Regions from separate parts of the Homo sapiens genome. Here regions 2, 3, 4, 5 and 6 are each linked to region 1. The links are contacts of gene promoters, found by promoter capture Hi-C in blood cells and fetal thymus (Javierre and others, 2016). All regions are on one chromosome and are shown on one strand. Each heading gives the region's core, a stretch centred on a gene start or on the middle of the fragment in contact. The rest is flanking DNA. Distances are from core to core; before and after follow the strand shown.

Region 1 (3,926 bases), core at 366-2,865:
AGCTCAAGTAATCCACCCGCCTCAGACTCCCAAAATGCTGGGATAACAGGCGTGAGCCACTGCACCAGCCACCCCACTTTAACATTTTTAAATTTTCTGGCTTGTGAGCTATGAGAATATATTACCCAGCCAAAAATTATGCTTTAAAAATCTTTTTTTTCGAATTTTTCTTCTACTGAGATAGTAGTTAAAAAAGAACAAGGAATATAATGATGCTAATAAATTTCTACAACACAAGATATAAATGAGACAGAAGTTTAAACAGCTTTAAAAGTTTAAGCTTTTGGCTGGGCACATTGGCTCATGCTTGTAATCCCAGCACTTTGGGAGGCCGAGACAGGCAGATGGTTTGACCTCAGGAGTTTGAGACCAGCCTGGGCAACATGGCCAGACCCCATCTCTTAAAAAAAAAAAAAAAAAATTAAGCTTTTGCTTCAATTTTTTCCATCTGATTTATCAGAAGTACCTGAGGGAATAGAGAGAGGAGATGTAGGGGGTGGCCAAGGAATTGAGAGCTATAAGAAAATAAGGTTTGAATTAGCAGATATGGAGAATGGAAAAGGCGGCTACGAAAATACACTAGACTCAACTAAGAATTTTTTTTTTTTTTTTTTGAGACAGTCTAACTCTGTCACTCAGGCTGTGGTGTAGTGGTGCGATCTCAGCTCACTGCAAACTCCGCCTCCTGGGCTCAAGCGATCGTCCGGCCTCAGCCTCCCGAGTAGCTGGGATTACAGGCGCACGCCATCACACTAGGCTAATTTTTGTATTTTTAGTAGATACAGGATTTCCCCATGTTTGTCAGGTTGGTCTCAAGCGATCTGCACATCTCGGCCTCCCAAAGTGCTGACGGGAGCCACCGCGCTCGGCCACTACTAAGAATTCCATATGCGCAAACAAACAGGTATTATACATTGGCCCAGTGCAGCAGAATACATATCATCTGAGAACTGTGACATTGTGAGAAGAGGAAGTTAAAAGTCATCCTTTAAGACAATTTACTTTGACTTACAAACAGTATGAAGAAATGTCAGACTAAACCGAGTCCCCCCCGCCACCCCCACCCCCCGATATTCTCTGTCCCGGAATATTTCCAGGACCTTCCACACTGCCTGACACAGGCTGACACTCAACAATTGAGCTATTCGTTAAGTCGACTGTGGCTTTAAGGAAAATTTTTAAAGGGTGCCCTTTGCTTCAAATTCAAAACGTAATTTATCTTACGATTCTGCACGCTACTTCACCACAGGAAACGAGGATCAGATCTAACGGAACGAGAAAGTGCAGAGAGCAGCAGTGAACGTAACCTGGAACATTAACACTATGTTCCCTGCACCCTCCGCCTCTCCCTACCCCAGTTTCGTTCCCGGCCTGGTAAGTGTGGGAACAAGGCTGGGGACTGTGCAGCCGGCGCATGGGAAGGCCCCAAATCCTCAATCCAATCAGTTCCCAACGCTTTCCTGCTTAAATGGACCGCCACGGCGTGTGTTTTGAGCGTTCACCTACCCTCATCCGCGTCGTACATATTGCCAAACGGTTCTCGAGCTCCTAACTCTTGAAATCAAAAGACAAAAACCGCCCAGAAGCCAGCAGCGCCAGGAGCTAAAGACGAAGTAACTTCCGTCTCCGACGTTCCCAGAATACCACGCGTCTCACACCAAAGGCCGCCCACAGGGACGCCAAAGTTAGGATCTGCGCCTGCGCAAATTGTAGGTCAAGCTTGGGCCGGGGTTAGGGTTGCACACGCGTAAATTGTGGGCCGCCGCTGCCGGGCTGATTGAGAGGACAGCTCCCGCAATCTGCGGTCGTATCCGTTCCGTCAATGTTTTATTTCTGCTTGTTTTTCAATGTTGTTGCACAAATAACGACACCTGAAAACAAAACCAGGTATACTTATTATTAAAAAGTGTTCGTCCTGTGAATCCGCAACATTGGGATGCTCAATTTATTTGCCTTTATAAGGACCAAAACACGAAGCTATTTTTTATTTTTATTTATTTATTATTTTTTGAAATGGAGTCTCGCTCTGTCGCCCAGGCTGGAGTGCAGTGGAGCGATCTCGGCTCACTGCAACCTCCGTCTCCCGGGTTCAAGCGATTCTCCTGCCTCGGCCTCCCAAATAGCTGGGATTACAGGCAAGGGTCACCACGCCCGGGTAATTTTTGTATTTTTAGTAGAGACGGGGTTTCACCACGTTGGCCAGGCTGGTCTCGAACTGCTGACCTCAGGTGATCCACCCGCCTCGGCCTCCCAAAGTGCTGGGATTACAGGCGTGAGCCACGCGCCCGGCCGGAAGCTCCTTTCTGTTTTTGTTTTGTTTTGTTTTTTTGAGACAGGCTCGCTCTGTCGCCCAGGCTGGAGTGCAGTGGCGCGATCTCGGCTCACTGCAACCTCCGCCTCCCGCGTTCAAGCCATTCTCCTGCCTCAGCCTCCCGAGTAGCTGGGACTACAGGCGCCCGCCACCACGCCTGGCTAATTTTTTGTATTTTTAGCAGAGATGGGGGTTTCACCGTGTAAGCCAGGATGGTCTCGATCTCCTGACCTCATGATCCGCCCGCCTCGGCCTCCCAAATTGCTGGGATTACAGGCGTGAGCCACCGCGCCCGACCCCGGAAGCTCCTTTTTAAGTGTGATTTATTAAGGGCGGCTTGTGCTAGCAGTGAGGCGTTAAGCCTGAAAGTGAAAAAACCCAAAACACTCACTGCTCTTTTCTGCCCACCTAGCTCAATCCTCCAGTGCCTTTGCCATAGCTTTAAGTAGGTTCTCAGTCTCAGAGCTTAAATCGCGAGAACTGACGGGATTAGACGCAAAACCAACCAGGACAGCTCCCAAGTACCCACGCGCTTTCGTCTCGGGTCAAATGCGCGCCTCGGACCCTAGTGCGCGTGCGCGCTGGTGGCTCCGCCCCTTTGGAGCTACTTCCTCATGCTGCCCGCTCGCCTACCGTTCAGGCTGCTGAGCCTTTTCCTTCGTGGATCCGCTCCCACGGCAGCGCGCCATGGCCTCCGGGAGCCGCTCCTGGAGAGGAGGTGCGCTGCCGCCTCCTCCTTCCAGCACTCATCGAGTCTGGGACGCGAGCTTCCTTATGACCCCGTGGACACGGAGGGCTTTGGAGAAGGTGGTGACATGCAGGAGCGTTTTCTGTTCCCGGAGTACATCCTGGATCCGGAGCCGCAACCCACCCGCGAAAAGCAGCTGCAGGAGCTCCAGCAACAGCAGGAGGAGGAGGAGCGACAGAGGCAGCAGCGGCGGGAGGAGCGGCGACAGCAAAACCTACGGGCCAGGTCCCGGGAGCACCCGGTCGTGGGGCACCCGGACCCGGCATTGCCGCCCAGCGGCGTGAACTGCTCGGGCTGTGGGGCAGAGCTGCACTGCCAGGACGCCGGAGTGCCCGGCTACCTGCCCCGAGAGAAGTTCCTCCGCACGGCGGAGGCAGACGGCGGGCTGGCACGGACCGTGTGCCAGCGCTGCTGGCTGCTGTCGCACCACCGGCGCGCTCTACGCCTGCAGGTGAGCCGCGAGCAGTACCTGGAGCTGGTGAGCGCCGCGTTGCGGCGGCCCGGCCCCTCCCTGGTGCTCTACATGGTGGACCTGCTGGACCTGCCCGACGCCCTGCTGCCCGACTTGCCCGCGCTGGTGGGCCCCAAGCAGCTGATCGTGCTGGGAAACAAAGTGGACCTCCTGCCCCAGGATGCTCCTGGCTACCGGCAGAGGCTGCGGGAGCGACTGTGGGAGGACTGTGCCCGCGCCGGGCTCCTGCTGGCCCCTGGCCACCAAGGGCCACAGCGCCCCGTCAAGGACGAGCCACAGGACGGGGAGAATCCGAATCCGCCGAACTGGTCCCGCACAGTGGTCAGGGACGTGCGGCTGATCAGCGCCAAGACCGGCTATGGAGTGGAAGAGTTGATCTCTGCCCTTCAGCGCTC
Region 2 (3,926 bases), core at 896-3,395, about 130 Mb before region 1:
GGAGAATCTCTTGAACCCAAGAAGCAGAGGTTGCAGTGAGCCGAGATCGCGCCATTGCACTCCAGTCTGGGCGACAAAAGCAAAACTCCGTCTCAAATAAATAAAAACGTGTAGCCATATGCACATACATTAAAATGTAAGCAAATAAAAAGAGTTCTTCCAGAAAAGTTTACAATTTAAAATTCACCATGCTTTAATATTCAGTGGAAGATGCAAACTACAGTAAGAAAACTCTTTAGGAAATTAGAATGCTTGTGGACATAGCTCCTAAGTATTTCAATTGCTGCAGGGAGACTTTTGGTAATGTAGCAATTACTTCTTTTGAAATAAACTAGATCTGTGCTGTTCAATATGATAGTCAACAGCCACTTAAGGCTAGAGTATTTGAAATGTGGCTAGTCTGATTTGAGATACGCTGTCACACCAGATTGTGAAGACAGAATAAAAGAAAGTGTAAAATATCTAATCAGCAATTGCTTTGATTACATATTGAACTGATAACATTTTGGACAAATTGGGTCAAATACTAAAATTTCATGTTTCGTTTATTAATGTGGCTACTTAAAAACTTCAAATTTCTCATGTCCTCACATCAAGACTGGAAAAAAACTCTTAAATTACATCTGTGTCTTGCATTATATTTCTGTTGGACATCGCTGCTATAGACATGTTTTTAACAGCTGAAACAACTCTTGGCGTCTGAGAAATGTTTGTGTGTGTCTGGGTTGGAGGGGACGGCTGTACACAGCAACAGTTACCTAGTTACCTGCTGGTTGAGGTCAGCGCCCGTTTGCAGCTGCCAGAGAAGAAAGCAAGCAAGGCCGCTTCCTGCGGCTAAGTGGACAGGCGACTGCTTGCAGGGATCCGGGGGTGCGTTGACCGAGGCCCCTGTCTCCAGCAAATGCTTCAGACCATCCACCTGCAGGAAGAGAACAGATCCAGCACCCTTCCCACCTTTGTCCAGTCCCGCGCCCCTCCGGGCTGGAAACCTCCCCGCCCTTCACAACCAGCTCTGACCAGGCAGCGCCCAGTGGTCCGTCCCCGCATTAACGAGAAGACGAATCTAGAAGCTTGAGCCTGCAGGACAAAAGCTCGGGCTCTGTGAGCCCGAATCTCACCTCGGGGTTGCAATCCAGCAACAGCATTTCCCGCCTAAGGCAGATGACAAGAGTCCTTGGAAGTGCAGAGAGGTGAGACACTCGCCGCACCCCGACAGGTAAGAATGCGCAGGCTGGCCCTAGCACGGGAGAATTTAAAGACCGCTGGGACTTCCGGGCCGGCCCTTGGCAGCCGCGCCCCAGCTCCGGTTACGCCCGAGCAGCCTAATCCTCAACGACCCGGACCCTGTCCAGCCCCGCCACGGCCGCACGTACACAAACACTGGCACGTGGAGCCCGGCGCCGGGGGCAGGGGGAGGGGGCGGGCGCGCGAGGCCATCCGCCGATTGGCCAGCTGTGGATGCGTCAGGCCCTCCCACCTCGGGGCGGGGCCCGCGGCGGCCCCACGGAGCCTCAGCGCGCGTGCGCAGGGTAAGTCAGTGGGCGTGAGAGGACTGGAGTAGGAGCGGGTGGGGCTCCGCGGCCGCCATGAGGCGCGCTGAGTTTGACACGTCTCCCGGTAGTGCGCCCGCCCTTTAATCCTTACGGAGAAGCGGGAGTTTCGGCTGCAGGTTTTGGCTCTGCCGGCGCGCACGTAACCAGGAAACTGGGAGCCACGCGCAGCTCCCCGTCGACGCCGCCTTCAGAAGCCGCTGTGCACTGCGCTGCTGCCGCCTCGGCGCCGGGGAACGCAAGTTCCTTTACCTCGCGCGCAGTCGCCCGCCTCCCAACCCGGGAGGTGAAGGCGGGGACGGCGAGCGCGAACTCGAGGGGATGGCTGTCCCGAGTGGCAACGGCCGAGCCCGGCCCGCGCAGGGACCCTTGTGGAGGGGCCCTCGGGGAGAGGCCGCAGCACGCTGGGGTCGTCACGCTGGTCCACGCCGGGCTCTCCTCCCGGGAGAGCGGACCCGGCCGCGTGCGATTCGGACCCGCGGGGCTGGTGAAGCCGCTGTCCGGCCCCGCGGGTGCTGTCGGGCGTGCGTCACTGCTTTTTGTAGAACATGACCTGACTTCCGATGGCAGCTACTGACGTCAGAGCTGCTCCCTAGACTCTCCCTAAGCGTCTTTCCAGAAGGATCTGCTTAGAAACCAAAGCTCCAGCCGAGTGTTTCTTTTCCCCTACATTTTTAGTGATTCCCTTCTGTTGATGCCTTTGAAAGCTCGGAGAAATAAATACGTTTATTGTTATGCTGTTAGAAAACAAGTTCATGCTTGTCCTCTAAAGATAAGTGGTCTTTTCATTCTACTTTTTGTTTTGTAGTAAGAGCCATAAAATTTGCAATCGCAAGTTTATGTTGTTATACTTAGTTACCCAAGGGGTAGTTTTAAGCATTTTTATTCATATGAATATTTGAATATAAATGTGTGTTCAAATATATAGAATCGTTCTTATATTCCACATTTTTAATATTTAAACTATTCACAATATCTTTTAATGATGTTTAAAGAACGGCAGTGTAGAGATACTGTTGTCAGATTTGTGAGGTGAGCACACGTTGATATTGCCAGTTTCGCTTTTGTTTATCAATTCAATAAGCACTGCTTTTTAAAACACGTGTTGAAGCTTCAGGTTTGCACAGAAGTTCATTTTCAGGAATTCCTAACTAATAAAGGGTATCAGACACGTTCTTACAGTTTTGAACATAAATACTGCAGTTAGCATATGTAGTGGGATATTTGTGTGGTGAAAGTGCCTCCATATTTCATATCTTTTCTTTGAAACAAGATTCTGTTCAGTATGCATTAAGTGGTAGTTATTTTTTAACTTCCTGTTACATACGTAAATTTCATAAGGAAAGGAAATTTGGGGAGTCGTTACAGCTTTTCTCCCTTTAATCACAGCGTACCTGTCCATTGCTCACATTGTTTTCAGAAAAAAAAGTTGTATCTCAGCTGGATATCTGACTTGACTTTAGTAATGGGCCTAGAAACTATAAACTGAACAAAGCTTATAATGCACAAAAACAGGATAAGTACATTTGGGGGACAATATCTTACTGGCAAGTAACTGGAGTTTCACCAGGCGTGTAGCAGGTGGGATCAATTTTCTAAAACGGAAGATGATCTAAGATGCATATTTTATAGGCGTTCTCCTAAGCAGTGCTAATTCTACATGTTTTAATTGCTGGTAGATGCGTTTCCAGAACGAGGATGCCATTTACAGCGAGTGTTAAAAAAAACGTTGGATGATGAGTAAGTGACCGAATAGATGAGAGATGTGTGGGCTGAATCTTGAGTAGTAAGAGTTTGCTAAGGAGTCCAGGAAGGGAAGAGTATTTCTAAGAAGTGTAAAATATCTTCCAGTATTGAGAGCACTATATGTAGTTCAGTCTGGGGGCAGTGTGTGATACACATGCAGCTGTGATGTGAAATAGAGAAAGGCCGACAAATGAGAAAGTATTAACCACTAACGTCTATTCCAGTTTATTATATTACAAATTGACATTAATTGAGCACTTGTGCCTCAAGACTAACGCTCATAGGTATTATCTGCATTTTACAGAAGAGGAAATTGAGGCTTAGGGAGATCCATTAACTTGTCATGTAATTATTAGCAGGTAAATCAGGAATTTGAAGTCAGTTTGACTCCAGAGCCCACATTCTTATACCTATGTGTTTTAAATAATTTTGGTCACCTCTGGTCAATTCAGGCTAAGATTGGTTTCTTTAATGCAAACCAAAGGCCTTTTTTTTTTTTTTTTTTTTTAACTCTGAAACACAATCTCGCTGTCTTGCCCAGATTGGAATGCAGTGGCGTGATCTCAGCTCACTGCAACCTCCGTCTTCCCGGGTTCAAGTGATTCTCGTGCGTCAGCCACCCAAGTAGCT
Region 3 (3,926 bases), core at 482-2,981, about 72 Mb before region 1:
AGGAGATGTGAAAAGGAGGAACATGAGAGGGGATCCTTTAAGGATAAGTGAAATCATCACAATTTTGTTTCCTAATGATGAAACTTATGTTGAAAATACTCCATTAAAATTCAACTACTAAAATCTTGTAACCACAAACACAAACGCAAAAACAAAAAACTATCATGATCATAATTATGATCATGTAAGCTAAAAAATTCGAGTGCAGACATAAAAGTTTTCACCTGAGATATTCACTTTATGTAAATACCACTCATCAGTTATAGCCAGAAGGTATTTGCTTCCATCCAGTTTGGGTGTAAGCGTAGAGTTAAGTCTATAATTATTTATTTGATGCCAAGTAGAAATACGACAATATACAAGGTTCAAATGTGGGAGAAGTTACAAGCAAGTCCTTGGAGAGTCAGTGAGATGTTTATGAAGAAAGAGTCATATACTGAACTTCAAAAACGAGTTGGACCTTGCACACTCAATTTTCCCTTAGCTATAACGTTTATACAAAAAGTTTTTGTGTAAACGTTATAGCTACTAAAAATCAGAACAAGTTCAATTATCACCAACTCAAAGCTGGATTAGACCTTTTCAATGATTATTAAGCTACACATCCATATTTAACAGCTAGTCTTTAGAGGAAGGGACCATCTCATTCTATTAACAGTGAGTATTGAGTAAGGCCTTCAGATGCCTAACTGCATATATTTGAATACATTTTTAAAATTTCTTAACACATATCGCTAAGGTTACTTTGTTTATATGACATTATGAGTACGGGACAACAAAACTCTTAAGCCGTTAAACAGAAAGCCAAATCAAGCTGCATCTATGACATGCCTGTTTAGTGAAACTTTACTTCAGTCCATAAAAATACAATTTATTAAAAGCACAAAACTAGTGGCTAGCTTCAAGTTAACATTTTTGTTGCTAGTGGTGAGATTTCCTCTAATGTTAAATGATTTTTTTTAAAAAAATACGTTTTAAGTCCAGACAAAATTAATTTTCAAAAATGAAAATTGTAATCTATCCACAAATGTAAGTTTTACCGTTTTGTTTTTTGCAAAAAAAAGTACCTTTTATCTTTCCTTATATTTGAGGAAACAAGCTTATCTTTGAAGAAGTAGCTGCTGAATTTGCAAGATCTTTTGAGTACTTCTAACTACACGCTTTATTACTACACAGTTAAATATTTAAACAACAGTTGTCTCCTTTGTCTAAAGACCCACAAAGACCGAGAAGGTACTTACCTTCTTGAGATGACCAAATCCAAACCTAGAACTCCTCCAGAGGTACAGCCTTGGTGGGAGATTCTGAAGACGCCAGTCTGGCTTCTATCCCTAGCCGCAGGAACCTGCATCTTTTACTTAGTCCAGAAAGGCTTAGTATATTAGTAACCCAAAGATAGTGAGGGCATTTAAACTGTGTATTTCATTCTCTACTCACGTTTGCATTTTGGTTTTTTGTTTGTTTGTTTGTTTGTTTTAAAGAGGTTGGGCCTCACTACCTGGAGACACTGTCCCACCAGTTTGGCCGCCGCGCCAAGCCGGTGGCTCAGCCCGCTGTCATCCAGGTTCTCACGACTCCTCCCATTGCTTGACAGCCAGCCAATAGCGTGCTAGGACTCTAGGACGCGCGATGGCGTAAGCTCCAACGCCCGCGTGATGACGCAAGAGGCGCCACCGTCTCCAAGGAGTGGTCCGGGGCACCGGTTTCAAAGTCGCAGGGCGGGCCGAGTGGACTTCCGCTGCTGGCCTGGGGCTTCCCAGCCGTCTTGGCGTTGTCCTCTCCAACCCCCGCCGCTCCGCGTAGAACGCCGCTCTCAGGCTGCCGTCAAGCTCCCGCGGCACTCTCCTAGGTGGCCCGACGAGACCCAGAGTGACCCGCGGGACGCCTGTATCGACCGCGTCCTCTTCCCACCAGCGTGGGATTCGGTTGAACGTGGAGTCCCCAGCAATCTTCAGTCTCTCACCAGGGCCAGGGACTCGTCTGGGGCGCGGGGGAAAGAAGCGTGGCGGGGCTGTAGATGCCGCGTGAGTAGGATGCAGATTGCACCGCTGGAGCGCTTGACAACCAACCGAGCGTTGGCTTAGTTTTGTTTTCCCGCACAGCAAGCTCTCTGTCTTTCAGAGGAAGGTAAAGGTGGTGAAAGCTCTAAACTAAAATTGTATCGAAATGGCTGCAGAAATCGACTTTCTGAGAGAGCAAAGTAAGCTCCATGTTTTTTTGAGACTTCATATACAATGTTTAATATCGTCGTCGTTGACCGACAAATCTTTTTTGAATGCTGGTTGGGTACATTTAAATTGGTAAAGAGTTAAAGAAGTTAGTTGCAGGAAAAAAAAAACCTTGATGTTATACGTGAGGATGTGTGTATATTTAAGCAGAACCGTGTGGTAGTACTTGTAGCTTACACAGAATTCTACTAGACGCTAAACATGTTTGTTATGCTCCTCTCGTGCTCTGAAGATTAGAAGGCTAATGGCCAGCAGGAGTTTCCAAGTGTGCATTTAAAATCTAGGGGCACAGCTCTCTGGCCATTTATTAAAAAGATGTTTATTGAACTCCTGTTTCTATTATGTACCAGACACTATGGAAGAACAGCTGCTGCAAAGATAAACAGGACAGTTTTTACCTCCAAGAATTTAATTTGGGGAGGGAAATGTATTCCAAAATATATTGAAGTGACAGCAACTGCTGGCTCTTTTGCCACAGTCTCATAGGGTTGTTGGAAAGATTAAATGAATATTAAAATATGTAAAGGATTTAGAATAGTATCTGATACATTGTGTTAAACAAATATTAACTATTACACGATTATTATTAAAATATGTTCAAGGAAGGTGCTATTGGGCTGAAACGTGCAGTACAAATATGAATTTACTATATGAAAAACTCTAGGCATCCCAAATAGAACAATATTTGTGACACTGAGGGGATTAGGAATATGCTTTGTTAAAGACTTGCAATACGGCTGGTTTGAGTGTAATATTGATGTAAATTGAATTGGAATATTTATATAGGGAAATGGCAAGTGCAGTTGAAGGCGTAGAAAGGGGCTGGATGGTGAAGGGCCCTGTCTTCTCTGTGCTAAGGAGTATGGACCATTGCATGGGTTATAGGAATTCAGTTGAGAGTGGCATGATCAAATTGTAGTTTAGAAGGCCCGGTCTGATTTTTACGGGGAATATGCATTATAGCAGAGTGCAGTTAGTTGTCTACTGTCATCATTCAGGTAAGAAGTAAACTAAGTTGGGCACAGGGAGACTGGAGATCAGGGGATTTGAGAGAAAGAGGTAGAGAGCAACTTAGTTTTTGCTTGAGCAACGGGGAAGTTAGGAAAAAGGTAGTAAGTTCCGTTTTGGTAGCATTATAGACCAGTGGTTAAGAACTCAGTCAGCCTCTGGATTTAGTCTGTCTGGGCTCACAGCCTACCTCTTTCCAGGTCTGTGACCTCGAGCAAGTTTCCTAGCTTTTCTGCACCTCAGTTTTCTCATTTATATAATGAGTATAAGAACACAAGAATCCTCTTGAAGTTGTGAGACTTAAATGAGATGATGAAAAAGCATTGAGCATAGTGTCTGGCACATATTAAGTGCATGGTATATGTTATCTAAAATAATTAATGACACTATAATGACACAATAACATTAGCATTATTTCTTAGGTTTGCAGTGGGAATATCCCCACCCCATAAGAACAGCTAACTGGCCACCGTAAGAGTAGTGTGGGACAGGAATTGGTTGATGAGGAGTTTGGCTAGAGTCAGGATAGTACTTGAGGTGGTCAGAAACTATTAATTTTATAAGAATGATCCAGCCAGAATTCTTAGATAAAACTGAGATCCAAATACCAGGGGAAAACAAATAAGACAACTGAAGCATAGTAACATTTTTTTAAAAATGAGTGGTATTTAATAGTTCCATGGAAGACAA
Region 4 (3,926 bases), core at 509-3,008, about 32 Mb after region 1:
AGTGGGTTGGAGTGTAAGGGCCTGATTAGCGGTGTTTACTGATTTCCATGGTGTAAATGCTCCCACCATGGCCAACGTGACATCATCAAAAGAGGAGTTGGAAGATGTGCAGTAGTATAACATTACATTGAATTTCCACCATATAGATAAAATGCATGTAAATAACCTGAAGAGCATAGATAATAGTAAAATGTAAAATAATTAGGAAGTGACAAATTTTGAGTATTTTTACTTTTGCTTGTAATATAATTTTTGAGTGGCTGTATTTGAAAACTAGCTCACAAAATTACTGAACATTTAACAATCAGCTCTTGCAAGTGGGTGTGACTCAGTGCAAATGGACAAACCACCAGGTGAAAGCAATGTCAGGAATTACTGTAGGCTCACATAAGATGAAGATTGTAAGGAAACTGGAGGCAGGGATCTCCAGCAGTGAACCTCTAAGTTGTTGAACTGTTACAGCACTGCCAGGTTCCTATGCCGGCTGTGCAGAAACAGACCAGTATTCCGACAGCAGGCTTGCAGCAGAGAAAGTTTTAATAATCACAAGTTACAAGCCAGGAAACAGGAAGAGTTCTCAAGCTTCAATCCATTTCATCAAGGGGTTCTAGGCAAAGTTTTTTAAGGGGATTTGTGGAGGGTGAGGGGCTGGAAAATTTGGGGTTATCGATTCGTTGGGGTAAGGGAGATGAAATCATTAGGATGTGACAATTGCATTCCTCCATGAATCAGCTTTTTATTGGGCCTTCCAGACAAGTTGGCGTCCTTAGTTTTGTTGGTATGCGGGACCTAAAGAAGCAATGCAAACAGAAAGCTTATCTTCTCATAATGTCTTAGATTTTATCTTCAGAGCAGAAAAAGAATGAAGAGTCTTGTGACAAGGGCCACATTCTCCTGGGGTAGTAAGTAGCAACCAGCTACAAGAAAGTCGGCCACACTGCAAGCTGGCTTAATAACAGCAGCTGTAAGCCTAGTTGGATTTTTTTCCCCTCCTTAATCAATTTTACAAAATGTTCTTGGGGATAGTTTCAGAATGGTCAAACTAATTCATTAATTCAATATCAACTTTTTTTTTAGGCCCTACTTTATTCTGGGCACTGTTTTAGGTGCCCGGGGGAAGGGGGCACCGCAGCAAAAACCGAGGTCCTGCCGTTAGGTTAGAGAGTTTACATTCATGGGTATGGGTGTGTGTGTGTGTGTGTATAAACAAACGTCTGGCATGTCACGTGGTGAGTAGTAAGTGCTATGGCTAAACAGTAGTGTCAAGGGGAAAATGAGTGGGGCACTGCTATTTCCTATGGGGTTGTGAGGCAGTAATAAGTGTGGAAATGTATCAAAGTAAAGATCGAAGGTTCTGGCATCTGACAGTTTGAATAAGGCGGAAGCACAGACCCTGCACAGATCTCAACCATCCAACAGGACTGAAACACAGAACTTGGAAAAACCCACGTACCTGCTTCTTACTCTGCTCGCCCGGTCTGCACAAGTGCAAAATCCTTTCCTGAAGTTTGTGTCAGGAACACCAGGGTTTAACTAGACGAATCAGCCGCAGCGGGGCGGGGCTAATTTCAGTCCTTCCTTTGCCAAAAGTCAGCGAAAAGCGCGGACTCCCTCGCGCATGCTCAAATACGCCAACTTCCTCCTGGAGCGCCATCTGAGAAGGTCTGCGCATGTGCACGAACGAGAAGTGTTTTTTTTGTTTTGTTTTGTTTTGTTTTGTTTTTTGTCCCAAGGCGCTGCCGTACCGTCCAGGCGGCGAGTTGCATTCTGGTTCCGTCGTGTGTCTGGCGTGTGGAGCTAGTGCTCCCGCTTATTCGCCACTGTCGCCACCGCTGTCATGAACCGCGAGAGCTTCGCGGCGGGAGAGCGGCTGGTGTCGCCGGCTTACGTGCGGCAGGGCTGTGAGGCCCGCCGCTCGCATGAGCACCTCATACGGCTGCTTCTGGAGAAGGTACCGAGCTGTCGGTCCCCTCCCCAGCCGCCGCGACCCCGGGGCTCTGGCTCCGCCGGGCGTCCCCGCTGGTGCTGCCTCACCGGCAGCTCTTCGCTGCTTGAGACTAGTCCCAAGTCTGTCTCAGCTTGGCTTGCCCTAGCTGACCGACTGCGGTCTGTGCCTTCTCAGCCTTGCCAAAGCCAGTGAAAGCCAAATGGTGTTGTTAGGAGGGGGTGTTGGGGTCGGGGTTTTGAGTCCCGCTGTTTCTAACTTCGGGATGCGGAAGTGAGGGAAAGTCCCAGTGTACTTTTTTATTCGCGGAAAGGGCAAAGTTCGCACCTCCATCTTTCACCAACCCTCAACGACTCAGAACACATAATGGTGTTTGTAGACTGTATGCTAACTCGAACCACGAGCTTTCCGCGGAACTTCACAGGTCTCCCTCCTGCCAGCGTTCATGTATTTTAATTTCATTAAAAGTTTTGTTGTGTTTTGTTTTTTTGAAACAGAGTCTCGCTCTTTCGCCCAGGCTGGAATGCAGTGTGACGATCTCGGCTCACTGCAGCCTCCGCCTCCCGGGTTCACGCCATTCGCCTGCCTCAGCCTCCCGAGTAGCTGGGACTACAGGCGCCCGCCACCACACCCGGTTAATGTTTGTATTTTTAGTAGAGATGGGGTTTCACCATGTTGGCCAGGCTGATCTCAAACTCCTGACTTCAAGTGATCGGCCATTCTTGGCCTTCCAAAGTGCTCGGATTACAGGCGTGAGTGAGCTACAGCGCGTGGCCAAAATTTCACTGAAGTTTGACAACTACCGCCCTTCTCCACGTCCCACCGCCCCAGTCGTAACGCCCTGGTTTGAAGCATCTTCACTGGGGATGTGTTGTATTGGTTTTCAGTTAGTTTCACTTACGGAAATTTAAATATCTCAGTAAACCTCATTGTATGCATTTATCATCACTTCTCGAAATCTGTAAATAATTGTAATCAAATGTACAAACGTTTTGCCTCTTTGCGGTCTCTATACAGTGGTGAATTTATGCTTGAATTTTAGAAAACAAGCAGCGTGGCAAAATACACGTTAAAAAGAAAAACTGTATTCCTGTAGTATTCTAGAGAACGGTAGTTTTATTAAATATAATCATAAGTTTTTTTTTTTTTTTAAGGGCAAGTGTCCAGAGAATGGCTGGGATGAAAGTACACTTGAACTCTTTTTACATGAACTTGCAATCATGGACAGCAACAATTTCTTAGGCAATTGTGGTGTGGGAGAAAGGGAAGGGAGAGTGGCATCCGCACTGGTTGCTCGTCGTCATTACAGGTATCTTTTTTTAAGTAGTACAGGAGATACATCGTTTATTTATTTTTGGTTCAAAATAATGGCAGCAGTATTTATCTTATTAGATTATCAAATGTCAGTTTGTAAACCACTTCTTCCCTGCTCTAATGGATATGTAAGCCAAATGCAACAGGGAGATGGAAACAATTTTATCTCAGCAGGTGCTTTTCAAAGACAATAGAGTAAAAACTAAGTGGGGGTTACCCTGTCAGGTTCTGGGTGACTAACACAGGCTATACGTTTTCTTAGGAACGGTTACCCTAATAAACATATCTGGTTGTAAGAGTTCAAAATCCATTAAGGTTGTTTATAGCTTTCCATATTTCTTTTCTAACATTTGTAGTGTTTTTTTTTTTTGAATGATTTATAGTTATCAACTTTAAATTTTGTTTTAAACTGTGTTTAAACTGAATCTCATTTTATAAATACCTCTGTTGCAATAGATACAGGGAAAGGTGTATTAGATTATTAAGTGACCTTTTTCTTTTGCATTATTGCAGAAAGCTTTTCATCAATTCTGATAACGATTTAATTGGTAGTTAATTGGTAGTTAATATGATCACTCATTGCTCTGTCCACTAACCTTTCTGTGAAGTGTAAACTCTTTTAAATGAAACTCCTGTCTTCCATGCTTTTACATTATAATGAAAATTT
Region 5 (3,926 bases), core at 682-3,181, about 32 Mb after region 1:
GGGGATCTCGCTATGTTGCCCAGGTGGGTCTCGAACTTCCAGCCTCAAGCTATTCTCCTGCCTAGACCTCCCAAAATGCTGGGATGGGATTACAGGCCTGCCATCTCGTTGACCTCTCGCTTTGATTTTTTTCTAGCCTTAATACTGTTTGTTTATAAAACACCTCACTTTCACAGAACAAGTGCATTTTGAAGGCTTTAGGCTCTTTTAAAAACCCAGGTACACAAGGTAGCTTACACAAGGTAAGGGACAGAAAAAGGCAAGCTAGCTATTTTACAGACTAAATTCTAAGTAACATATACCCAAATTGCCAATGTAGCTAGGCAAATGCAGACCCGTTTGTGATCTGGTTTCAGCTTCACGTTGTTTGGTTAAACGTCAATGCATCCATCAGGTAACATTATAACGGGAGCAGACGTTGGTTAAAGCTTAAACAATCAGACAAACTGCTCCCCTTGGGATTCTCTGATTTATTTACTCTAGAATATGCCTGAATGTAGCCTCTAGCTAGAACTTGAGTGACCGATTCTATCCAAAATTCTTTAAACTGTAAAGGACACATTAGTGTACCACTAACAGTACATTTAAAATCTAACAATTCCAAAAAAAACTAAGCAGTGTTAAAGAAACTTCCATTTTCTGTGGTTTTTAAGTTGTCATGTGTGAAGCGATAAACCAACCGGGTGCACAACATCTCATTTAATCCATCCTCACAACCAGCAGGGAGGTGTACCATCGCCTTTTTACAAACAAGTCTGTCTCACCTCTAGCTGAGAGTCTTACAAGTCTCTTGCTATTTCCATCACATTTGTCTAACTCCATTCAACACGCCAGAAAAACTCACTTTATTAATAAATATCCAGGCCTGCACAGCATACCTAAATTTAACCTTCAACATCATTTCAACTGCCCTGTTTCGCCTGAGGTTATCAGTCCGCTTAATAGCGAAAAGAGGTTTTTCGTTTTGGTTTTCTTATGTATTAGAAGTAAATCAAGAAAGAGAAACTAAACTGTAAGAGGGCAGGAACAGACTTTCAACTGCTTTTGCCCCCTGTGGCTAACTTCATAATAACAACATTTAATAGAAAAAGGTTTTGAAACGTGCCCCAGTGGCAACTGGATATTCTGGCTGTCCATCTCTCTCCTGTCATCCACTTTGCAAATTCACCACTCCGGGAACTTTCCTGAGAGTTCAAGGTTCTTAATTCAAAAGTCAAGTCCAAACTTGAGCAAGGACTTACGTCATTTTACAGCGTTAACCTCTCCCCAGTGTCGGTTTCTAGAAGTTTTGACTCACTTTGCGGGGAGGTCTAAAGAATCGGTTTAATGACAACCACTGGCCTTAGGAGAGGGAGCTCCCGGAGAAAGAGCGAGCAAGCTAGGTGCCCGCGGTGCGGCTGCGGCTGGCGCCGGTCCGAGCTCGGGAGCTGCTGCCCAGCGAGCGGGGAAAGCCCGTCCACCTCGGCCAGCGCGCGCGGGAGACAGGACCGAGCCGGGCGACAGGGGCAGCCGCCCGGAGGGGCGCGGGGAGTGGGGCAGGGCCGGGTCGCACCTGAAACCGCGGGGCGGCTCCGGTCCAGCTCGGCGGACGAACTCCGGGAGACCCCCACGTCCCCGGGCGGGAGGGGCAGCTCCTCGTCGCCGGCCTCGCCCTCCTCCCCGGCAGCGTCCAGCAGCCTCACGGCGCTGCCTGGGGCGCCTCTCCGCGGGTGGGCCCAGGCGATCCGCGGTAGCAGCGGCTCCCGCTCCCCATCCTCCTCCTCCTCCGGGCTCCCGCCGTCCGCGGACGCCAACCGGTCGGGCTCGGAGGGATCCTCCATGGACTCCCTCTGCTCCCTCCGCGCTGAGACCAGATCAGAGCAGCCAGGTGCCAGAGACTGGGCTCTGCATGGCGCGGAACGGGAGCGACCGGGTAGAACGGACGCCACCTCACCAGCGCACGGGCACGCTTGGCGCCCGCCCAGCGGTTGTCCCGCCTCGCCGCCGGCCGCGCCCCACCTCGCGCCTCCGCCAGGCACCACCCCCGCGCCTGCGCAGAAGGGTCGTGGCGGCGGCGGCGGCGGCAGCGGGGCACGTGGGAGTGAACAGGGGGCGGGGCTTTTGAGGGGTCAGGTGGGGTGGGGCCGCCACCTGCTTCCGTGAGCGCGGGGAGAAGCTGGGCACAGCTCGCTTTACTCCCAGTGGAGGGCGGGAAGGTGAGTAATTTTCAAAGAGGTGCCCTCCTGCAACCAAAAGCGGCTTCTCCCTGACAGAATTCTCTCTCAGAGTTTACCATAATCTGTAACTATAGATTTAATTGTATGACATTTCTTTCCTCCAGTAGACGTCCAGGAGGGCAGGGACCTTGTCTTTGTTCAGATATTCTTGATAGTGGCAGTTTGTATGTTTTCTTTTTCTGACTAATCTAGCTAGAAGTTTATCAATTTTTAAATCTTTTCAAAATGTCATGTTTTGGTTCCATTGATTTTCTGTTTTCTGGTCCATTGCCTTATTTTGCTCTTTATTGCTCACTTGAGTTTTGATTTCCTCTTCTTTTTCTAGTTGCTTAGAGTAGAAGATGATTGATTCTGGATCTTTCTGCTTTTCCAATGCTAGTATTTTAAGGCTATAAATTGCCCTCTAAGCACTGCTTTAGCTGAATTCTCCTTTTTTTTTTTCTTGGTGGTTGTTATTTTTGAGACAGGGTCTCACTTTGTTATCCAGGCTGGAGTGCAGTGACACAATCATAGCTCACTGCAGTCTCAACCTCCTAAGCTCAAGGGATCTTCTCAGCTTTAAACTGTAGAAGACACAGTAGCTGGAACTGCAGGTGTGCACGACCACATCCTGTTAATTTTTAAATTTAAATTTTTTGTAGAGATGGGATCTCACTGTTGCCCAGATTGGTCTTGAGCTCCTGGTCTCAAGCAGTCGTCCTGCTTCAGCATCCCAAAATTCTGGGATTACAAGCATAAGCCACCTTGCCTGGCCTGCTACTGTGCTTTTGTTTTCCTTCAGCTGAAAATAGTTTTTAATTTCCTTTATGATTTCCTCTTTGACCCTGTAAAGGAAAATAAAAATCTCAGAACCACCCCCCACCCCCAACTTGTTATGTCAAAGGGAGAGTTAAGCCTGGAGACTGAAGTCACTCAACACTACAATGCTTTTCCCAAATGGATAGCTGTTACTTCCCATAGTTGTATTAAAACTTTATATGTTAGCCAGACCCTCCTCAAAATGCAAAAAAAAGCCTTATGCATCTCAGTCTCAGGATGACTGTCCTCAACAAATTAATCATAGTAAATTCTTTACTGGCCCTTAAACCTTTCAAGATGTATATCCTTCCATAAAACAAGGACGTGTCAATTGTATAACTTTAAGTCTGCAACCTAAATCAAACTGGTACAACTAAAGTCTGTTAAATTTCACATGGATAAATTCAGTTACAAGCTTATCTTCCCAGATGCAGAACAAGGATAAGATCAATCATTCCTTCACCTGAGATATCTGTATAATTAACTTCCTTTACTCCATTTTCTTTGAATATTCACCTTATCTTATGCATAGCATAGAGTTACTGGGCACTACCTAAAGTCTAGCAAAAATGTAACCATTTGCTTCACCACCTACAACCCTCTTCCCTGATGCCTTCTCCGCTTTAAAGAAAGAATAGCTGTAATTACAGGTGCCTGCCACCATGCACGGCTAATTTTTGTATTTTTTAGTAGAGATAGGGTTTCACCACATTGGCCAGGCTGGTCTCGAACTCCTGACCTCAGATGATCCACCCGCCTCGGCCTCCCAAAGTGCTGGGATTACAGGTGTGAGGTACTGCACCTGGCCTGTAAATGCCTTTTAATTGGAGTTTGGGGTCCATTTACATTTAATGTAATAATGATGTGGTTGGATTTAGATCTATTATTTTGCAATTTGGGTTTTATTTGCTT
Region 6 (3,926 bases), core at 690-3,189, about 25 Mb before region 1:
TGCACTCCAGCCTGGGCAACAGAGCGAGACTCCGCCTCAAAACAAAAACAAAAACCGTGGAGAAAATGCTAAACTCGATTTCTTCTGAACCTATGCTAAGATGTCAAGGTACTGTGATTCTTCTAAAAGAATTTTAAAGGTTGTTATGTTTGGTGTCCTAAAAGTGTACATGGATTTTATATTATAACCTACATCAAGAAACTCATTCAGGCCAGGCGCCTTGGCTCATGCCTGTAATCTCAGCACTTTGGGAGGCCAAGAATTCCAGACTAGCCTGGGCAATATGGCGAAACCCCGTCTCTACAAAAAATACAAAAATTAGCCAGGCATGGTGGCTCTCCCTTCAGTCCCAACTACTCGAGAGGCTGGGGCAGGAGGATGCCTTAAGCCCAAGGAGGTAGAGGCTGCAGTGAGCTGTGATTGCACCACTCCACTCCACTCCAGCCTGGGAACAGAGTGAGACTCTCAAAGAAAAAAAAAAAAAAGCCTTATTCACAGATAATTTTTTTTAAAAATGGAAACTAAAATAGAATTTAAAACCCAAGCTGCTCAGTTTCTTGGAAGATGGATTTTTCCTACTTGGTAATATACTTTGTATATCTCGACTATTATTGTGCATGCAAGCACCTCTAAGAAGTACTTGTATCTGCAATGAATTCTTAAACCTCAGGGAGCCAAATAAAAAGACAAGGCCCGAGGAATTCTTTCAAAAATTAAAGTAACATTTCATATTTGCTTATTCTAACAGACAAAGAATAAAGAAGGAATCCGCTAAGTTGCAAGCTGAGGTGCAGACAAGTGCTGGTTCACAGTGACATCCTAGAAGGAATGCTCTGGATAAGAGCTTCAAGCTTCTGTGGTTTTCTGAGGAAAGTGAACGGAATCTAGACGTGTCCTATAGCTCAAAAAATCAGCGCTATGGACCACAGCGCCTAACAGAGTAAAATAATACACTGTGCAGTTTGGCCACTAACAGCAAGAGTGGGAAGGGGCGAAGAGGAACCTTGATTGCCCGACACCAGGGCCACCTGAAAAGTCATCTTGACACTTCAGTCTTTCCATTTTGAGATCGGAAGCTTTAAGGACCATTAAATCGCTGCCGCTGCCACACCAGGCCCGACGGAGCAGAAAGGCTGCGCTCACCTGCGGAAGCGACCGGGTGCACACCTGCCGGGTGGCGAGGCCCGCACCGTCACACCCCGCCCCGGCTTACCTGCCCTTCGGTGATTTTTAGCGTCAACTTCCATCCCTTCCCACCCATCTGGATCCAACCAAGCGCAAGGGCGGGGGAGGGAGAAGCTAGTGTCGCGAGGAAAAGCATCCCCGCAACCCACCGCAGGCTTTCTCTCCTTCCTCCCCATTCCACACAAGAGGCAGCCACACCGCCTCTCCTAACCCTCGTCTCCAATGCAAGGCCTGAAATACTTAGAAAAAATAATAACTGTTTTTAAGGAAAAGTAACATCCCCGCTCCCTTCCGCCCCTCACCTTCACGAAAGCAATCGGGGTTGTGGTACCTTCGATATCTAACAGGATCACGGTGACTTCGGCGGGGACCGAAAGCACGACCATTTCCCTACCGGATGCTACGGGACTCGGCCTGCTGTTGGGGAGGGCGGAGGGCGGCGCCGGCTGCGGCTGCGGCCCCCGGTACCGTCTTGGGCTTCCGGCGGCCCCGCGCGATCTCGGAGCCAGCGACCAAGTGCAGCCCGCCGCGCGTGGGGAGAGGACACTTCTGCACACCTGGAACTGGAAAAGGCGGCCGCCCAGGAGCCCTGAACTCGTGAGCAGGACGGGGCAGGAGCCCGAGACCACGTGGGCAGGAAAAGGGGCGGCCCTTGACGGGTTCGGCGGGGCGGGGAGGGTGAAGGCGCCAGCGCCGATTGGCCGCCGTCAGGCCTCGAACTGGATCCGTCAAAATGGGCCTCGCGTGGGCGGGAACAAAGAAGCGAACGCGGGAGCAGGGTGCGCGAGAGCGCGCCCTCCGCAGACAGGTTGAGCGAGCGGGAGAGGCCCGGGGCACGTGCAGAAAGGAGCCCCGCGAGTGGCGCGCCGGGGATGTGAGTGCCCCTTGCCCTCTACTGAATCCAGCCCCCTCCCCGCCCACCGCCTCCGCCTTTGCATAGATACAGTCATCTGGCCAGCCCCCGCCCCTCCTCCCGGCGTCAGCCCGCCAGAGGCCGCGCGGGGCCCGGGCTTCGGCCGATCAGCCCGGGAGGCCCCGCCGCGCCCCCTTGGCCCGCGCGCCCGTGGTCACAGTGGAAGAGGCGCCCGCGCTGCGCTGCCCGGAGGAGCCGTCGCGCGCCCGCTTCCTGTTCGGCTGGTTCCTGCCAGCTCGAGGACAAAACACGCGTGCGCGCGGCGGGCGAGCGCGCTCGCCGCCTCAGTCGCCAGCGCCGGGCGCAGTCCGCCTTTTTCCGGAGCAGACTGGCCGCGGTGCTAGTCGGTAGCAGCGGCCGCCGCAGCGGCTCCGCACTGGCGAACCGAGGGCAGAAAAAGGCGGGGTTGACGGCTTTTTGGTAGGAGTGGGCTGGACCGGACGCCAGAGACAAAGGCTCCCAAGGCAAGAGGGACTGTGGCCCTGCGTCGGCTCTGCTCGGGACTGCTGACCCCAGGAATTTACGCCCCTTCGTTTTTCTCTTCTGATTCTTCTCTTCTCCCAAGCCCGCGTCCCCTCACGCGTGGCCTCTCTCCTTGCCGGGAGGGCCGCGATGGAGGTCCCGCCCAGGCTTTCCCATGTGCCGCCGCCATTGTTCCCCTCCGCTCCCGCTACTTTAGCCTCCCGCAGCCTCTCCCATTGGCGGCCGCGGCCGCCGCGGCAGCTAGCCCCGCTCCTCCCTTCGCTCGCTCCCAGCTCCGCCCGGCAGGGGGCGCGCCGGGCCCAGCGCCACGTCACCGCCCAGCAGCCCTCCCGATTGGCGGGCGGGGCGGCTATAAAGGGAGGGCGCAGGCGGCGCCCGGATCTCTTCCGCCGCCATTTTAAATCCAGCTCCATACAACGCTCCGCCGCCGCTGCTGCCGCGACCCGGACTGCGCGCCAGCACCCCCCTGCCGACAGCTCCGTCACTATGGAGGATATGAACGAGTACAGCAATATAGAGGAATTCGCAGAGGGATCCAAGATCAACGCGAGCAAGAATCAGCAGGATGACGGGTACCGCACGCTTCTTCCCCCGCTCCCCCTCCCCCAGCGCGCCGCACGCGCCCTTCGTTCCTCGTGAGCCGCGCGCTGCCCCCATTCTTTCTCAGAGTCGATTCCCCGCGTGCCTTCTGGGCCCCACTAGATTGGAGGGAAGAGGAAAGTAAGAGATCGAGGGGGTGACTGGAGAGACCCGGGAAGAGTGGGGGAAGGGCGGAGGGGTTGGAGGAGGAGGGCGGCGGCGTCTGTGTCCCGAGCGCGCAGGCGCCGCGTGGGACCCGGGGGGGAGGGGCCGGCCTCCCAGCGCTGCACGCTGCAGCTGCCGCCGCCTCTTCATTGTGTCTCTGTTACCACTCGGCGCGGTTTTCCTGGGAAGAGTTTTAGAGGACTGAGTTGGGGCACAAGCAGGCGACTGGTACCCAGATTCACAAAACGTGTTATGATTGATGAGTTCTCTGGGTGGAACGTTGGCTTGACAGCTGAGAACGAAGATGGACCTAAGTAAGATAAGATGTGAGGGATTCATCTAGGAAGTTGTGCCTTCTACCTAAAGGAATCTGGGCAGAACCTTTACTGTATTTTATTGGTCTCTTTTGAGCTTTGCTTTATGTAGTGCGGACAGTGAGCTGTCCGCTGGTTTGAGTAACTTCGTTGGGATATTGGGATTTTTGTGTGACATAGATTAAATGTAAACATGAATTAAATTGCCTACACTTAGGGGGTAAATGTCCCTGTTTTTATTTCACGATTTAATTCCAGAACTGAAGGATCATTTGAGTTATTGTTAA

Evidence for each region. Contacts are between HindIII fragments. The CHiCAGO score rates a contact against its expected background, and 5 or more counts as called.
Region 2: a contact is called between the fragment with the promoter of LRP2BP here and the fragment with the promoter of POLR2B in region 1, in 1 of 17 cell types (non-activated CD4 T cells). The highest score is 8.2, in non-activated CD4 T cells.
Region 3: a contact is called between the fragment with the promoter of SCLT1 here and the fragment with the promoter of POLR2B in region 1, in 2 of 17 cell types (total CD4 T cells and total B cells). The highest score is 7.5, in total CD4 T cells.
Region 4: a contact is called between the fragment with the promoter of SEPSECS here and the fragment with the promoter of POLR2B in region 1, in 3 of 17 cell types (non-activated CD4 T cells, total CD8 T cells and fetal thymus). The highest score is 7.7, in non-activated CD4 T cells.
Region 5: a fragment that was not itself captured here is called in contact with the fragment with the promoter of POLR2B in region 1 in 2 of 17 cell types (total B cells and non-activated CD4 T cells); the score reaches 12.9 in total B cells.
Region 6: a contact is called between the fragment with the promoter of HNRNPDL here and the fragment with the promoter of POLR2B in region 1, in 1 of 17 cell types (fetal thymus). The highest score is 10.3, in fetal thymus.

The regions. Positions count from the first base shown.
Region 1 is chr4:56,976,585-56,980,510 of GRCh38, reverse strand. POLR2B (RNA polymerase II subunit B) reads right to left here and starts at 1,615. Exons shown (of 25, transcript NM_000938.3): 1 at 1,507-1,615. The coding sequence starts at 1,525. It overlaps NOA1 (nitric oxide associated 1), which reads left to right and starts at 2,905. Exons shown (of 7, transcript NM_032313.4): 1 at 2,905-3,926. The coding sequence starts at 2,926. RefSeq lists enhancers at 1,242-1,341, 3,163-3,232, 3,613-3,672 and a silencer at 3,333-3,412. The HindIII fragment of the contact is 1,293 bases long and covers 429-1,721 here.
Region 2 is chr4:185,394,143-185,398,068 of GRCh38, reverse strand. LRP2BP (LRP2 binding protein) reads left to right here and starts at 2,145. Exons shown (of 9, transcript NM_001377440.1): 1 at 2,145-3,290. ANKRD37 (ankyrin repeat domain 37) reads right to left here and starts at 1,228. Exons shown (of 5, transcript NM_181726.4): 1 at 1,119-1,228; 2 at 767-919. The coding sequence starts at 1,145. RefSeq lists silencers at 1,243-1,612, 1,833-2,022 and an enhancer at 1,643-1,712. The HindIII fragment of the contact is 1,591 bases long and covers 1,073-2,663 here.
Region 3 is chr4:129,091,344-129,095,269 of GRCh38, reverse strand. It overlaps SCLT1 (sodium channel and clathrin linker 1), which reads left to right and starts at 1,731. Exons shown (of 21, transcript NM_144643.4): 1 at 1,731-2,200. The coding sequence starts at 2,167. It also overlaps a transcript of C4orf33 not described here. RefSeq lists an enhancer at 1,467-2,036. The HindIII fragment of the contact is 3,346 bases long and covers 1,102-3,926 here.
Region 4 is chr4:25,158,281-25,162,206 of GRCh38, reverse strand. It overlaps SEPSECS (Sep (O-phosphoserine) tRNA:Sec (selenocysteine) tRNA synthase), which reads left to right and starts at 1,758. Exons shown (of 11, transcript NM_016955.4): 1 at 1,758-1,951; 2 at 3,100-3,254. The coding sequence starts at 1,838. SEPSECS-DT (SEPSECS divergent transcript) reads right to left here and starts at 1,535. Exons shown (of 2, transcript NR_037934.1): 1 at 1,454-1,535. RefSeq lists an enhancer at 1,495-1,794 and a silencer at 1,905-2,074. The HindIII fragment of the contact is 2,962 bases long and covers 817-3,778 here.
Region 5 is chr4:25,232,058-25,235,983 of GRCh38, reverse strand. It overlaps PI4K2B (phosphatidylinositol 4-kinase type 2 beta), which reads right to left and starts at 1,951. Exons shown (of 10, transcript NM_018323.4): 1 at 1,553-1,951. The coding sequence starts at 1,820. It overlaps LOC105374535 (a long non-coding RNA gene), which reads left to right and starts at 2,119. Exons shown (of 4, transcript XR_925490.3): 1 at 2,119-2,195. RefSeq lists enhancers at 1,062-1,191, 1,124-1,623, 1,624-2,125 and silencers at 1,412-1,471, 1,512-1,751, 1,852-2,161. The HindIII fragment of the contact is 3,001 bases long and covers 431-3,431 here.
Region 6 is chr4:82,428,475-82,432,400 of GRCh38, reverse strand. It overlaps HNRNPDL (heterogeneous nuclear ribonucleoprotein D like), which reads left to right and starts at 1,939. Exons shown (of 8, transcript NM_031372.4): 1 at 1,939-3,153. The coding sequence starts at 2,711. ENOPH1 (enolase-phosphatase 1) reads right to left here and starts at 1,811. Exons shown (of 6, transcript NM_021204.5): 1 at 1,488-1,811. The coding sequence starts at 1,571. RefSeq lists enhancers at 1,221-1,320, 1,684-2,479, 2,631-2,720, 3,041-3,100, 2,480-3,275 and silencers at 1,561-1,880, 2,001-2,400, 2,771-3,010, 3,321-3,490. The HindIII fragment of the contact is 3,206 bases long and covers 1,079-3,926 here.